2 separate regions of the Homo sapiens genome follow, and region 2 is linked to region 1. The links are contacts of gene promoters, found by promoter capture Hi-C in human tissues and cell types (Jung and others, 2019). All regions are on one chromosome and are shown on one strand. Each heading gives the region's core, a stretch centred on a gene start or on the middle of the fragment in contact. The rest is flanking DNA. Distances are from core to core; before and after follow the strand shown.

The links. Contacts are between HindIII fragments. The study calls those that stand out against the background at their distance.
Region 2: a contact is called between a fragment that was not itself captured here and the fragment with the promoter of RBPMS in region 1, in 1 of the 25 tissues and cell types used here (heart right ventricle).

Annotation. Positions count from the first base shown.
Region 1 is chr8:30,382,999-30,386,950 of GRCh38, forward strand. It overlaps RBPMS (RNA binding protein, mRNA processing factor), which reads left to right and starts at 1,543. Exons shown (of 9, transcript NM_001008710.3): 1 at 1,543-2,160. The coding sequence starts at 2,095. RBPMS-AS1 (RBPMS antisense RNA 1) reads right to left here and starts at 2,403. Exons shown (of 3, transcript NR_046205.1): 1 at 2,146-2,403; 2 at 546-699. RefSeq lists enhancers at 1,330-2,000, 2,001-2,672. The HindIII fragment of the contact is 17,890 bases long and covers 1-3,952 here.
Region 2 is chr8:30,084,022-30,087,706 of GRCh38, forward strand. No RefSeq gene overlaps it. Among named protein-coding and RNA genes, the nearest start is that of SARAF, 2.8 kb to the left of the region's middle. The HindIII fragment of the contact is 4,614 bases long and covers 1-3,685 here.

The sequences.
Region 1 (3,952 bases), core at 293-2,792:
AGGGTCCTTATCTGCAACTCCCACAGCCACCCCCGCCCTATCCCCAGCAGCACTTAAACCAAGTATAAAGAATGTCTGGTGGGGGTGGGGAGAAACAGTTAAGCAAATACTGTAGTTGGAAACTGTTACCGGTGCAAGACAGGAGCAGCAGGCTGGGATGGAGAATTCCTGGGAGGAAGAAGTGGGGCAGAACCCACTGATATATGGAGTTCCACATTTATACCTTTGTAGCAGTCAAATCTAAGAGTTTAACACGGTGGCTCCACGTTGTAATCCCATCAGTTTGGGAGGCCAAAAGCAGGAGGATCACTTGAGGCCAGGAGCTCGAGCTCAGCCTGAGCAACAAAGTGAGACCCTCATTTTTCTAAAAAAAAAAAAAACCAAAAAACCATAAGCTTAAATGATCGAGTATTGGAAACGCTTTCTAAGGCCCTGGAAAAATAGAAGTTTTCTTAATAATAATGTTAGCTTCCATGTATTGTAAACCTAAACGAAGCAAGAATAAATGCTGGGTGCTGTATATAGCTCTATCAACCTATAATCACCTCGAAAACTCGAGGAGACACATTCAGCTGCTCCCATTTCACGGATGAGGAAACAAGTACGCAATCCTGAAGCTGGTGCAAAGCCCAGGCCCCCTTTCTTTTTCAAGCGTGCTTCCAGCCTCTGAAGTTCCTCCGTACGGACCCCCAGCTCTGCCTGCAATAAGGAATATTCACTTTGCCAACAAATATTTATTGAGTGCCTGCTATATACCCCTTAGCCCGTTTAAATAGCCGTGGGATTAAAAAGATAAATAGGGCAGGATTTTTTTTTTTCTTCCAGGAAGGAGCTTTCTGAAGGGTGAGGGAGAGGCCAGGTAAACAATCCCAGAACAGTCTGGTGAGAGTTGGGAGAGGAGTCGGGGGGCCGCGGGACGCTCAGGAAGCGAAGCGGGGAAGGCTCCGGGCGCGTCGCAGGACCCGCGCTGGAGATGGGTTTGAAGCCCTGTCCTGAAAAAGCCGGCCCGGAGTGGGCTGTCCCCGGTGTCCCTCGAGTTCTCATGCTGTCATTCAAGCAGCAGAGGAAGAACCGGGTCTGGCTCGGGAAGGGTGGGCTTAGGGCCAGGGGTGCAAATCCCTCGGTAAAAGCCGGCAAACTAAAAGTCGCACACATCCCAGGTCCCGGTCCAGGCCCCGGCGGGGCAGGGTCCCCGAAGTCCCGGGGCGCGCAGACGCCGGGGCCCCCGGGGGCCAAGGGAACGGCGGGACCCGACCTCCCTGCCCTCGGCCTCCCGGGCCCTCGCCCTCCGACCAGCCGCTGAGTCGGGGGCTGGGGTCGCCGCTTCCGCCCGCGGCCCGCTGCCCCTCCCCGGCGCGCGCCATCCGGCCGCCGGCCCCTCCTCCCGCGGGGGGCTCCGTCCCGCGCCCCGTCCCTCCGGGCTGCAGCCGGCAGCCCACGTCCAGGGAGGGCGGAGGGAGGAGGAGAGGCGCGGAGAGGAGGGAGGGGAGAGGGGAGGGAGGAAGGCGAGAGAAAGGGAGCTGCTTCCATCCCGGACTTCCCAGAGCCTGCCTGGAGCGCGTACTCAGCGGCTCTCGGGTCCCAGCGTCCCAGCCGCGGCCCGCGCTCCTCCGCCCCGCTCCTCCTCCTCCTCTTCCTCCTCCTCCTCCTCTCTAGGCACCCCCGTCCCCTCCTTCCAGCGGCTGCAGCCCCCAGCCCCAACTCTCCGCGCTTACTCCTGGGACGCGCGTCCTCGCCCCATCCTTTGCTTCCTTCCTTCCTTCCTTCTTCCTTCCTCCCCTGGCTCCCGCCCTCCCTCTCCAGGTCGCCCTCCCGGGGCCCGATTGTCTCGGTGCCCCGCTCCCGGCCCGCGCCCTGCCCCGTCTCTCCCTTGCACTTCCTGAGTCGCCCGCCGCCGCCGTCGCAGACTCGCCGCGGGAGCCCCAGCCCAACCCGAGCCCGACAGCCACTGCCCCGGCTCCAGCTCCAGCCCCACAGCCCGCGGCGCCCGCCCGAGGGAGCCCCGGCGCCCGGGGAAGGCTCCAGTGGGCTAGCGCGCCCTCGCCCAGCCCCGCGCCCCAGCCCTGCCCGGCCCGGCGAGGAAGGACCGGGAAGATGAACAACGGCGGCAAAGCCGAGAAGGAGAACACCCCGAGCGAGGCCAACCTTCAGGAGGAGGAGGTACTGGGCGGCTCGGTGTGGTGGCGGGGGCGACGCGGGACCCAGTGCGGGCGGCCGGCGGGGCGCGGGCCCGGGGCGCGGCGGTGGAAGAAGGTTCAGGCATGGCCCGTGCCCCGGACGCAGCCCCACAGTGTGGCCCGGGGAGGGTGGATCTCGGGAGCGTGTGTTTTTGTGTCCACGCGCGTCTGCGGGCCCCAAATTGCGTAACTCCAAGGACTTTTCGGAGACTTTTGTAAGTATAATGCTCAGCTTTGTTTGCCCGGGATTTATAAGTGGAACCGAGAGCTGACTCCTGGGTGACCTCAGATAATCGGGACTCGGAGGGTCAGGACTTAGGGCCGGGGCTGGAAATTGTGTATGGATTCAGGGTCGGGGGGGGAGCAGTTTAAGGAAGAAACTCGGGGGAAAGTTCTCGTTAAAAGATACCTCTATTCCCTGCCCCCTCCCTTTCCGTGTTAAAAGTTCTTGGTGAAATATCTTTCTAGCCGAGGTTTTTTGGATTAATAGATAACTCATCAGCCACATTCTTCTCTGCTGAGTCAAAGACCCCGAGCCTGGGCGGTGAACGCTTGTGATTTTAGGGGCCGTGCAGCTGAGGGGAGCAGAGTAAGAGGGTTAAAAACGCAGCAATTCACCAAATGCTCATCGAGGGTATTTTCATAGGACTTTGACTTCTGAGCATGCATTTTAGGTGGTGCGTCCGTAATCATGATGAAAGTTTTGTGACTGCGGAGCGTTCCTTCGGTGGAAACAAAATTGAGTAGATGTGGTCAGAAGGGGAGTCGGACTCAGGAACAAACGTTTCAGAATTCAGTAGGATATTTGTGGTATCCTACCAAATGACTCTTTTTGCAGGTACGTTATCTGGAGTCCAAGAAATTATTTCTGGCGTACTTCTTAACATCCCACACAGTTGAGTTCTTAAACATTCTAGAGGAACTTGAGAGTGTGTGTAGATGCAGGAAAGTGCACGTCTAAATATGACCCGAAAAGATTCACACAGGTATTGGATCCTGATATAGGTGAACACAGAAGGTAAACGGATTCTAAAGCGTTAGAATGTTGAGATCATTGTTGAGACACTATGTTGTGTGCAAACTTCAATTCTGATAGTGAAACCAAAATTGCAGAGGAATTCATTAATACATACAACTTCTCTGCACATTGTCCACTTGGAAAATGGTAACTATTTAGATGGAGAAGGTAGAGGAGCGAGACTATGCCAAACAATGCAAAATAAATAGGAGATTTTACTCGTCACCCAGTTGTATGGTAGTGAAAACCTAAATGAATTGCAGTCAGCCAAAAATTGCTTTTTCACCCGAGGACATTTTCTATTTTATTATAAAAGACTATTTGAAGAGTTGTTTACTTGCATGTTTTCTAATTACAATTGTAGGAATGCTACTGGCATTTCTTTTTTCAAAGCGATGGAGAGTTGAATGGTGTGTTCTGATTTTTTTTCTTGAACTTTACTGGCTGCTTTGCTATTTATTTTCCCTACCACTTAAAAAAATTTAAAAATAATGACAAGTGTGCTTTTTTAGGAATTACCATATTTAACTAATTCACTTACCATATCAAGATAATCATCGCTTCAGAAATCTTTCTGTTTCAGCTAGATGTGCAATCTGTTTGCTTCTCAGGGTTAGAATATTATATGAAACCATCTTTCTTTATTCACCCAGTTGAGAAAACTTTTTTTTTTCCTTTTGGTAGGTAGCAAAAGAGGTTCAATGTCCTAAAAATCATACCCACATTAAAATTAAGTATAGAAAAGTCACATTTTTCT
Region 2 (3,685 bases), core at 727-3,226, 300 kb before region 1:
TGGGACCTGAATGATGAGAAAGAACTAGCCGTACAAAGATCAGGGGACTCATCTTCCCATCTGGGGAACAGTGGATGCAAAAGCCCTAACTTTGTGTTTCGAGGAAGAGTTATTTGGTCAGATCCTATAAAGAGTTCAGTCCCACAAGATGGCCCCAACTTCAGACATCAATCACAAGTCTCAGGTTGTGACCTATGCTTCTGACCAACCAGCTATAAATTAGGGTTTCCAGGCCGGGCGTGGTGGCTCATGCCTGTAATCCCAGCATTTTGGAAGGCCAAGGCAGGTGAATCGCCTGAGGTCAGGACTTTAAGACCAGCCTGGCCAGCATGGCAAAACCCCACCTCTACTAAAAATAGGAAAAATAGCTGGGCGTGGTGGTGCACACCTGTAATCCCAGCTATTTGGGAGGCTGAGGCAAGAGAATCGCTTGAACCTGGGAGGCGAAAGTTGCAGTGAGTCAAGACTGCCCCACTGCACCTGGACCATGGAGAGAGACTCCCTCTCAACAAATAAATTGGGGTTTTCATAACCCCCCATCTTGAGTTCCATAATTTGCTAGAATGGCTCACAGAACTCAAAAAAACACTTTATGTTTACCAGATTATTATATTGAGCACCTATTAGTACCTAACAGTACCTGCCAGGCACTGTTATCAGTATTGGGGATACAGCAGTGAATAAAACAAAATTTGGGGGACAAGAGGCAAACAAGGCCATAACTGAAGCAAAGTAAGTTAGGGGAAGAGTGGAATAAGAGATGGCAGAGCAGTGGGGCCTCGGCATGGAACCAACCAATGCTGGGACCAAGGACTGAAATAAGAGATAATAGAGAATCTATGCTCAACATGTTAAGTTTGAGGTGACTATTAGGCATCCAGGTAGACGTGTCAAATAAATAGATAAACTGTAAAAGTCTGAAGTTCAAAACTAAGGTAAATTTGGTAGTTATGTTGTAAATATAAAGATAGCATTTAATGTCATGATGCTATTGTTTGAATGTGTCCCCCAAAGCTCATGTGTTGGAAACTTATTCCCCAAAGCAATAGTGTTGAGAGGGGGGACTCTTAAGGGGTGATTAGGTTATGAGGGCAGAGCTCTTAATGCTATTATCACAGGAGTGGGTTAGTTATTGGGGAGTGGGTTCCCGATAAAAGGGATGAGTTCAGCTCCCTTTCTCTTTTGCCTACCACCGTGAAATGACACAGCAGGAAGCTCCCCACCAGATGCAGGCCCCTGGACCTAGGATTTCCCAGCCTCCAGAACCATAAGAAATAAATCTCTATACTTTATAAATTTCCCAGTCTCAGGTATTCTGTTATAGCAACACAAAATGAACTAAGACATGTGGGAAGAGACACAGTAACATGAGAGAATTGAGATACCACAAAAAAGGAGGCCCAGGCTATGGAAACACTAACATTTGAACCTCAAGCAGAAGATTCTAGAAAGAATCTGAGAAGTAACCTCTGGTGAAGAAGGAGGAAGAACTAGGACAATAGGATATGGTAATTGAGAGAAAGAAAGAATGGTCAACAGTGTCCACTGTTGCTGAAAGCTTGAAGCAAAATTTGGTCTCTGAATTTTGCAATGTAGAAATCACTAATTACCTTAACAAGAGAATGTTTGTTATTTTAGATTCCCACCATGTACCATGTACAGTTCTGGACAGTCATGAACAAAAGATGAAAGGTTGTTATAATAAACATTCTAGTGGGAGAGGTAGCCAACAAATCATGTCATTTCAAATAAATAAGTGCTTTGGGCCAGGCACGGTGGCTCACACCTGTAATCTCAGCACTCTGGGAAGCCGAGGCTCAGGATCACTTGAGACCAGGAGTTTGAGGCCAATCTGGGCAACATAGTAAGACCCCATCTCCACAAAAAATTGTTTTTAAAAAATTAGCCAGATGTGGCCAGGCACAGTGGCTCACGCCTGTAATCCCAGCACTTTGGGAGGCCGAGGTAGGCAGATCATGAAGTCAGGAGATCGAGACCATCTTGGCTAACACAGTGAAACCCCGTCTCTACTAAAAATACAAAAAATTAGCTGGGCATGGTGGCGGGTGCCTAAGTCCCAGCTACTCAGGAGGCTGAGGCAGGAGAATGGTGTGAACCCGAGAGGCGGAGCTTGCAGTGAGCCAAGATCGCACCACTGCACTCCAGCCTGGGCGAAAGAGTGAGACTCCGTCTCAAAAAAAAAAAAAAAATAGCCAGATGTGGTGGCATGTGCCTGTAGTCCCAGCCACTCAAGAGGCTGAGGTGGGAGGATCACTTGAGCCCTGGAGGTTGAGGCTGCAGCAAGCCATGACTGCATCACTGCACTCCAGCCTGGGCAACAGAGCAAGACTCTATCTCAAATAATAATAAGTACCTTGAAGAAGAAAACAGAGCAATATGACAGGTAGTGCCATAACAAGTAGGATGGCCCAGAAAAGATTCTCTGAGAAATTACCATTTGAGCTGAGAGCTAAATGATGAGGCTGTAAAAGGAAAAAACAAACTGTTTTCTCCTTTCTACTGGCACAAAACACAGAGCAGTTCTGTGACCAGAAGAGGGGCTGGGGGAGTATTTCCCTACACACCAACCAACTCTAAAGGACATCAACACGATGTCCTATAACTCAATTCAAGTTAAGGGCCCAGTCTCCCACAAGACTGCCCCAATTCAGACGTCAGTCCAGGAAAATATTTTATGTTTACCAGTTTATTGTAAAGGATTTATAAAGGATACAGATGAACAGCCAGATGAAGAGATGGATAGGGCAAAGATAAGAAGGCCATGGGGCTTCCATGCCCTCGCTGGGCACTCCACCCTCCCAGCACCTCCCTGTATTCAGCAACCTAGAAGCTCATGAAATCTTGTTGTCTAAGAGTTTGTATAGAGCTTAATCTCCAGCCACCCGCCCCCGATCTCTCCTGTTGGTTGGTGGGTGGGCTGAAATTTCCAACCCTCTAACACTCTAATCACATGGTCTTTCTGGTGACTGACTTTTTGGTGTCTGTAAACAATACAGTATAACAACTATTTACATAGTATTTACATTGTTATTAGGTATTATAAATAATTTAGAGATTATTTAAAGTATACAGGAGGGGCTGGGTGCGGTGGCTAACACCTGTAATCCCAGCACTTTTGGAGGCCCGAGGTGGGTGTATCACTTGAGCCCAGGAGTTCGAGACCAGCCTGGGCAACGTAAGAAGACCTTGTCTCTACAAAAAAAAAAAAAAAAAAAAATTAGCCAGGCATAGTGGTGCATGCCCGTGGTCCCAGCTACTCGGGAGGCTGAGGCAGGAGGATAGCTTGAGCCTGGGAGGCAGAGGTTACAATGAGCCGAAATCACACCACTGCACTCCAGCCTGGGTGACAAGAGTGAGACCCTGACCCAAAAAAAGATTTTTTTTCCTCTGAGCTTTCTCTGAATCAACCTGTAAGAGTTAGTAATTCTCAGTTTACAAAATTGTGAAGAGGATTAAATGAGATGAATGCTAAAGCACCAGGCAAATAGCACCTGCTGAAAAAGTAAGAATTCCCTTCCTCTCATCCACATTCTCATCTCCACCATTTAACTTTGGAGAATGGAAAACCATCCATATAAGAAGTATTGAAACTGAAAGGTAACACTAATTAGCTATTACATAACAATAGAGAACATTTAAAGGATATGACATTAACTAGCATTTA